Regions from separate parts of the Homo sapiens genome. Here region 2 is linked to region 1. The links are contacts of gene promoters, found by promoter capture Hi-C in blood cells and fetal thymus (Javierre and others, 2016). All regions are on one chromosome and are shown on one strand. Each heading gives the region's core, a stretch centred on a gene start or on the middle of the fragment in contact. The rest is flanking DNA. Distances are from core to core; before and after follow the strand shown. Region 1 holds the start of LINC03033 (long intergenic non-protein coding RNA 3033). Region 2 overlaps LINC03033 (long intergenic non-protein coding RNA 3033).

Evidence for each region. Contacts are between HindIII fragments. The CHiCAGO score rates a contact against its expected background, and 5 or more counts as called.
Region 2: a fragment that was not itself captured here is called in contact with the fragment with the promoter of LINC03033 in region 1 in 11 of 17 cell types (neutrophils, activated CD4 T cells, naive B cells and 8 more); the score reaches 16.9 in neutrophils.

Annotation. Positions count from the first base shown.
Region 1 is chr14:61,567,668-61,571,794 of GRCh38, forward strand. LINC03033 (long intergenic non-protein coding RNA 3033) reads left to right here and starts at 2,873. Exons shown (of 3, transcript NR_039985.1): 1 at 2,873-3,093. It overlaps LINC01303 (long intergenic non-protein coding RNA 1303), which reads right to left and starts at 2,986. Exons shown (of 5, transcript NR_110416.1): 1 at 2,819-2,986; 2 at 1,877-2,010. RefSeq lists enhancers at 578-1,079, 1,080-1,579 and silencers at 921-990, 1,071-1,230, 1,971-2,163. The HindIII fragment of the contact is 753 bases long and covers 2,540-3,292 here.
Region 2 is chr14:61,611,054-61,614,816 of GRCh38, forward strand. The region is part of intron 1 of LINC03033 (long intergenic non-protein coding RNA 3033); the gene reads left to right. Among named protein-coding and RNA genes, the nearest start is that of LINC01303, 42 kb to the left of the region's middle. The HindIII fragment of the contact is 7,886 bases long and covers 1-3,763 here.

The sequences.
Region 1 (4,127 bases), core at 1,623-4,122:
CACACACACACCATATTTTCTTTATCCATTCTTTTTTTTTTCTGGACACCTGGTCAACCTAGCATTTTACCTAAAGGCTAGGCAAGGGCCAATGGAGGCAGAAGGCCAAACCAGTCACAGTGGGGCCAGGGATAGGAATAAGGCAGCAGCGTGGGGGTGGAAATAGAAGAAAACTTAGGTAATTTGATCCCCAAGTGGGAGAACATGACCCCTGTCCTTGAAAATGCTGCTACTTTCAGCGGTGCTGCCGCTTGCTGCCCCTGTGCTGGGACTGACAGGCCTTGCGCTCTCCAGTCCCACTAAGAAAGCAAATTGGATTGGTCACTTCCCTGTTTAAACCTTCCAAGGCCCTGCATTGTTCTCAGGATGAAGTCAATTCTCCTTTCTCTGGCTGAGTCCTGGCTCCTCCTCAGCCCATCACTGCTACTTGCCCTCATCTCTCTGTGCCCACCGGCCACCCTGCCTTCCTGCAGATCCTACCGCCTGCGGTGTTCTTTCACCAGCCTGTCCTCTCTGCCTGCAATGCTCATTCCCTGCCCCCATGTTCCCTAGCAAACTCTCCTGCGACCGTTAAATTACAGCCTAAAAACATCCGCTTCTCTTTTCCCCTGGGGGCTGCCAGTTCCCTGGGGTAGAGTTCAGTCTGTTGTGTCCAAAGCCTAGCCAGTAGATGCTCCCATGTTTGTTGAATGAACAGAAGTTGGGACGGGAAACCAACAGACGCTCAGGACTGGGGTTTGTTTTTGTTCCTGTAAAACTGGATTGGTTCTGCAGAGGCACAAACAAGCCCGTTGATTTAGATCTATCGAGGAATTGGGGTAGGGGCAGGGGTGGCAGTTTTGCTAAGAAGAAAAGCAGGTGAAAGTGGGAGATTCCAAAAGAGACCAGAGAGAAGGCAGTGTGTCCTGCCCAATCTGCCGCTAGGGTCAGAGACCAGCTCCCTAGTCACACTCGGCCAAGGCAGGCTGCCGGGCTGACTCCAACTCTAAACAAAGCCAGGCAGCCGCCCAGGTGGGTGAAGGCTGCAGATTGCGCTCAGGCGTGACGCCGGGGTGCAGGTGGGAGCGACGCCCGGGTGCGTGGGTGCAGCGCTCGCCCGCCCGCGGTTAGGCGCACCGCGGGAACCGGTCAGGTGCGCCGTGTGGGGCGGGGCGGAGGCAGGGCGTGCGCCCCCAGGCTGGTGCCTGGGGCAGAGGATTCGCCTGCTTGACGCGCTGATGCCTTGATTTGGTCTGACAAGTGGAGGCTGCTTTGAGAAGCGGCCTGTATTTTTGACATTCAGGAAGCTAGAAATAACCAGCTGGGCTCCTGGCGCTCTGGCCGCAAATGTCTTGCGCTTTCCAGGCAACTGCCAGATTGAAGGGGCTTTTCCCCAATGTAGACCTGTGCTCTGTGTGCTAGGAGGCCGAGGTTCCAGTCCAGGCTCGGCTTCTGACTCCCTACTTTAGGAGGAATCACTGAATTGACTGCAGCTCGGCTTCTGCTCTGTAAAATGGGGCTGTTGCTAGCTGAGCCTCTTCTGCCTCTGGTAGAAAATGATTCCAAGTGGCTGCCCTGTCCACCCTAATCCCATGGCCCGAACTTGATGTCTGCTGCTTCTAGAAGCCTAGTGCTCCAAATATCTGCTCTGGGAGGGACTTGCAGATGATCCTGATTGGAAATGAGGCTGATTAACCTTTTGTGTATCATTGACTCTAGGACAATCTGTTGAAACCTAGGGGCTCTTACCCTAGACAAATTAACACACCAGCCAGATACAGCTTACAAGGGCAGAGAGTTGCTGGTTTGAACCACAGACCCCTGGTTTAACATCTGTAATCTAGTCAACCCCTCCTCTTTCTTGAAGGCTGAACCAAACACGAAGGGTTTTCCCCACCTTCCAATCCTCATACATGCAGACACCCCCTTTTCCTGCTTTCTCCTTCAGTCATCTTCCTCACCATCCCCCATGCTTGGGCACTCTCAGGAGGGAAATTGTCCTATAAATATCTGTAAAAGGCATGGTATGTCCTGTAGCAGAGAAAGCAAAAAATAAAAATATAATTCCTCCACCCCTGGCATGGCACGTGCAGAGCTCTGCCTGATCCTTCTCTCCCACAAGCCTCGGGGGTGGGTAAACAAAAGTGAGAGGTGAAGCTGCTGCAGCGAAGTACCCCTTCAAAATCTTCAGTACCCTTCAGAGCCAGCGCTGTCATCACTATCACATAAACTGTACAACTCCAACGTCAACCAGCAGCCGCCTGGCTGGCAGCAGGAAGAGCCAATGCAATTTTGCACAGTGGCTTGCTTGCCCAAGGTATTGCCTGGCAAATGGGCTTCTTGTGCAATGGGGAACCACAGGGAGGGGCCTCTTAAATGTACCTCAAAGAAACAGCTCTAACAATGGATGATTCAACAGGCTAGTAATTGGCGCTCACTCTTACCACATTGTTTTGATAAAACGACATAGCCCAACTGGGGATATGAAGGCAGTAAGTAGAAAAGCTAACCTCTTGCTACTCAAATTGTGGCTGAGAACCAGCGACATCCCATCACCAGAAGCTTTATAGAAAAGCCAGGCTCTGTCCCAGACCTATTGAAAGGAGATCTGCATTTTAACATGATTGCGAGAGGATCCACATCTTAAAGTTTCAGAGGCCTAATCCAAAGTCTTCTGATAATGATCATTAGAGTCCCAGCCACCCCCGACTTCCCCCTGGGAAAACCACAACAAATAGAACAAATTCCTCCAAGCTCTGCTCATAAGAAGAACCCACAACCCACAGACACCCCCTCACTCAACTAGAGACCTCACCCACCTGTTTGCAGAGTCACCCACCTTGGGCTACTTCTTTTCTACTATTTAATCTTCTGGGAAAACAGAGGTCTTCTATTTGGAGATAAAAATGACAAAGGAGAACCTCCTGAACAGCATCCAGTTTGCTTTTAGCTTTAGCCATCTCTCTGACCTCAGTGCTGCTGGACTCAGTTCCAAGATCTAACTGTCAAATGCTTTAGGGGAAACGGGAAGAGAAGTCCCTGGAGTAACCCATGTGCGCAGCCTGGCACTGTTTTCACTTGCCTTTGGAAATGAAGGTGCAGAAACCATGGGAGGTAAGGAGGGCACAGACTAGTGACTTCCAGTGTGGGACAGAGGGGAAAAGATGGAAGAGAAGTGCAGAAAACCACTCGGGAAAAGACAGGCTGGAGTGATGCCTGCTGAGACAGGGCCCTGATCTCCCAGGACTTCCCTTTCTGCCTGTTCTGTAGAAATGTCTCGGGTTTTGTGGTTTAGGAAAAGAGATGCTTAGCAAGCTTGTAGAAAATGTAATGTGGGCACTTTGTTGCTGTCCTGGCTTTTAAAGGACTCTGAAGCAGATCAGCTTCAAGGTATTGGCTATTCTGTTTGCAGCCTTAGAAAGACATCCTTGATGTTTTATTGTTCTGCCTTTGCTAAGAGCTGGAAACTCTCCCTGGGGAAATGGCTCACCTTGAAAGAGATGCTATCGTAGCTGAAAATGTTTTAGCTTCACTTCCAATCTCTGGTTCCTTGTGGGAAGTAACTGCTGCTGTGGTATATATGCCCTGTGCCTTTTATTTTTACCATCTTTACCTCGGTGGACACAGCTGGTTGAAACTCAGTAAAACTTATGCTTCCATGGAGATTGATTCAGACAACAGGAAAAATAAGTGTAGAAAAAAACTGCACAGTACAAGGGCTAGATTCAGGTTGTAGAACAAAGTGATTATTACTTAGAATCCTGGATTAGCAAGAGAATAAGAAAGATGCTGAGATTACCTAGTGTTATCACCATCCACGTGAAACGTAGAATAAAACTTTTTCCCCACCACATAGATATTGGGCAGTTTATTATAGATGCTACAAAGGGATTTATTATATTTTTCCCAAAATGGTTAATTAGAGGCATCCCAAATTACAACTCCTTTAGCATAACTCCCAGCTCCATGCAGCCTACTTACTAAGGACCCAGCTACTGACAGCTCAGCTCTTTGCCAATCCAACTTTTTTTCCCCATATGCTCAAACTTTTCTTCTCCAAGAAGACTTCCTGAATGATCCCAATTCATAGGGATCTCATCCTTAATGCAGGGGAAATTCACTGTTCTGGAGTAGTCTACCATACCATC
Region 2 (3,763 bases), core at 413-2,912, 42 kb after region 1:
GTAACTCTTACTGGAATTCCTAATTCAGAGGAATACTTTGAGGATGAATTCTGAAACCCAAGATAATTGTGTACCACAGACAAACAAAAGCACTATAACATGTAGCACAGCAGCCTTACTGGAAATGTCAGCGATATCTTCTAACTTGTCAAAGCATATCTCATACTAACCTGTCATGACCACCCTGGCCAGATCTTAGTAGATCCAGCAAGACAAAAACCAGAGGATCTCTGTGTTTTGTTTTTGTTTTTGTTTTGAGACAGATTCTCACTCTGTTGCCCAGGCTGGGGTGTAGTGGTATGATCTCGGCTCACTGCAGCCTCCACCTCCCAGGTTCAAGTGATTCATTGTCCTGCCTCAGCCTCCCAAGTAGCTGGGACTACAGGGGTGCATCACCACGCCCAGCTAATTTTTGTATTTTTTTGGTAGAGACAGGGTTTCACTGTGTTGGCCAGGCTGGTCTCAAACTCCTGGCTTCAAGTGATCCGTGCTGGTCTCGAACTCCTGGCCTCAAGCAATCCCCCCACCTGAGCCTCCCAAAGTGCCGGGATTACAGGCGTGAGCCACTGCACCCAGTCTGATTGCATTCTTATTTCCACTGTAGCTCTAGCAAACATCTAGCTTTTATGTTAGGTTCTATAACTTGGAGCTAGCTTTTCAAAATCTCTAGACTGGGGCTTCCCCATATTTCTATTGGGATAATGACTTCATCATGGGAAGATCAAGTTTGTGTAAAGCACTGTATTATAGTGCCTGGCACATACTGCAGCACCTGGGCAATTTTTCCCTCACTTAGTCTTCAGTAAGCACCTACTCAGGACCCAGGACCATTTGAGGCACTGGAAAGCTACTCATATTTTTAGTGTATTTGCTGTGTCTTCCTTCTGCTGTTTTGCTAAGAGATGATTAGATGGTCTTTCTAAATACCAAGATGAATAGCCACAGGCACTAACTTCTTCAGCCTATCTCCTATCTGCTCTTCCCTCCCACCCCCTCCACACACACACACTTACTCACACGCTCACAAACACATGCCCAACCTAATTCAGGGACTCACATACAGCTTAGGAAAGGCAGCTTCATCATCAGTCCCACCAAACATCTCCTGCTTCTGCAAAGCTGCTTCTACCATTCTGACATGTGTAAGTCTATTCATTGTATTGTATGTCCTCATAGCAGCATATATGTTTCCTTTACTGTGCTTACAATTAGGTAATTATACATGTAATCACTATGCAATTACTGCTGACTTTCCCCCAGTCTCTGTCAGGACCGTCCATACTGTCTCTCTCACTTTTGTACCCATAGCACTTGGTATAATGCCTGGTACTCAAAATACATTCTTTGAATAATTGGAAAACAGCTCTTGAAACCCCACACCATTTATGGGATCTTCTGGGATTTAGGCATCTCATATTCCCACCATTATGCAAACTGTCTCTACTCCAAACTCTAAAAATGTCATAAGATTTGCCCCTTACTGTTTCAAGACAGTAAACATACACTGCATGTGGTTAATAAATTTAATTCAGATATCAATTTGAGGTCCATAGGGATGGCCTAGATAAGTGGGCAACCCAACTAGATTACTGTTTTGACGCTTCATTCAACAGACATTTGTTTAAATATTTTTTAAAATTTTTCTTAGAGGCGAGGCAAAGGGCTTCATGGGGATAAACTGACCATTGTAGTAGAGGTTTGCCTCTCCTTGGTTGTCCCTTGCAGTTCAGCTCTGGTCCCAAACTGGAACAGTCCAACGAAGAAAAAGCTCCTATAGTTAATTGGATTCACCACTTTTAGAGGGGAGTTTAGAAACCCTTTTTTTTTTTTTTAGATAGAGTCTTACTTTGTTGCCCAGGCTGGAGTGTAGTGGCACAATCTCGGCTCACTACAACCTCCACCTCCTGGGTTCAAGCAATTCTCCTGCCTCAGCCTCCCAAGTGACTGGGATTACAGGAGTATGCCACCACACCCGGCTAATTTTTGTATTTTTAGCACAGACAGGGTTTCACCATGTTGGTCAGGCTGGTCTCGAACTCCTGACCTCTGGTGATCCGCCCGCCTTGGCCTCCCAGAGTGCTGGGAATACAGGCATGAGCCACCACACCCAGTCAGAAACTTTTTTTTTTTTTTAAGTATTCTCTTTGGAAGTCTTGTTGCCCCAGCCCAAGGAATTTGCTAAATTATCCTTATAATCACAAACAGTACTCTCTCTGAGAGGGCTCCTGTTGAACTCAGTTTTCTCTATCTTCTTATATTTTCAGAGATGTTTCAAGACCCATTTTAGACTGATACCTCATTACATCCCCATCTGGCTCACTCTTTAATTTGGCTCTGGGTTCCCTATACCAACTGTTTGGGGTTTATAATAAAGAATGTACATGTTAATTAAATATGTTCATGCCACTTCCAGAAGTCTCAATCCTGGAAAGAAAAAAAATGCAAAATAAGAAAAAACATCTCTATGCTTTAAGACGTTTTTTGCAGTATCTTGACGGAGAGCAGTGAGAACTTATTGAATCATTAAGTGTTCTGCCAGATAATATATTAAAAAAAGATTTACTGCAAAGAATTGGCTTATGTGATTGTGGGAGATGGCTAGGTAAGCCCAAAATTCATAGAGCAGATCATCAGGAAGGACAGGCTGGAAGCTCAGGTTAGATCTGAGGCTATAGTCAAAGGCAGAATTTCTTCTCCTTCAAGTAAACCTCAGTTCTGCTCTTAAGGCCTTTCAACTGATTAGATCAAACCCACCCATATTATCAAGGATAATCTCTTTTACATAAAGTTAACTGATTGTAGGCATTAATCACAACTATAAAATACCTTCACAGCAACATCTAGATTAGTGTTTGATTGAACAACTGGGTGCTATTTAGGCTAACCAAATTAGTGCATAAAACTGTTATTTTTCCTGTTTTAAAAGCAATTATAGGAAAGTAGACAGAATTTTAAAAATACCTATAATTCTATCACTTAAGACAATTTGCTGTGTTTTAATTTGTGCCTTCCAGGGTTTTTTTTTTTCCCCTAGCAATTTATTTATAACAGCAGGAAAAATGGAAATAAACAAAATGTTTAGCAATGGAGAAATAGTTATGGGAATTATGGTATATGCACATGAGGTGAAATTATGCAGCCTTTAAAACTTATAATTATGAAAACTGGATCAACCTGAAAAAATGCTTCAAGTGAAAAAAGTACAGTACAAAATCCTATCTCTAATAGTTATGATTATAGCTATGTAAAAACAGCATATCGTGGGACCATGCAATAGAAGGAAACATTAAAAATAGCGCAGCATCAGTGCCCCCCACCACATCTCCAGCACTTATCGTTGTTTGTGCCCTGAGTTAACAGCTCAGGCTGCTGCCAGCCCCCATGACCCTGCCTGAGGGCTTTCTCTGTCCTCTATGGCCCATTCTGCCCAAGCATGGACAAAATAAAATGGCCGGAGAATGCCTCTTCCCCTGGGAGCAACCCTCACCCAATGACGGATGGGAATTTCTGGGTATATACCTGGCCCCTTAGGTAAGGTGTCCTGGAGGTGGGTGTTTCATCCTGGTTCCATGAACCCCAGCGAGACTGGACTCCAGCTGCCTGCAGTGGCAACCTGCTCAACTTCCTCTATCTTGGCTTCCTTTCTGTCCCTGTCTCACTTTCCCACTCCCCTTCCAGCATTTTCTTCATAAACTATTTGCCTTGTCTTGGTTTGGTTCTGGGCCACATAATCTCCACAGAGGTGATATAGCCGCCAAGGGGC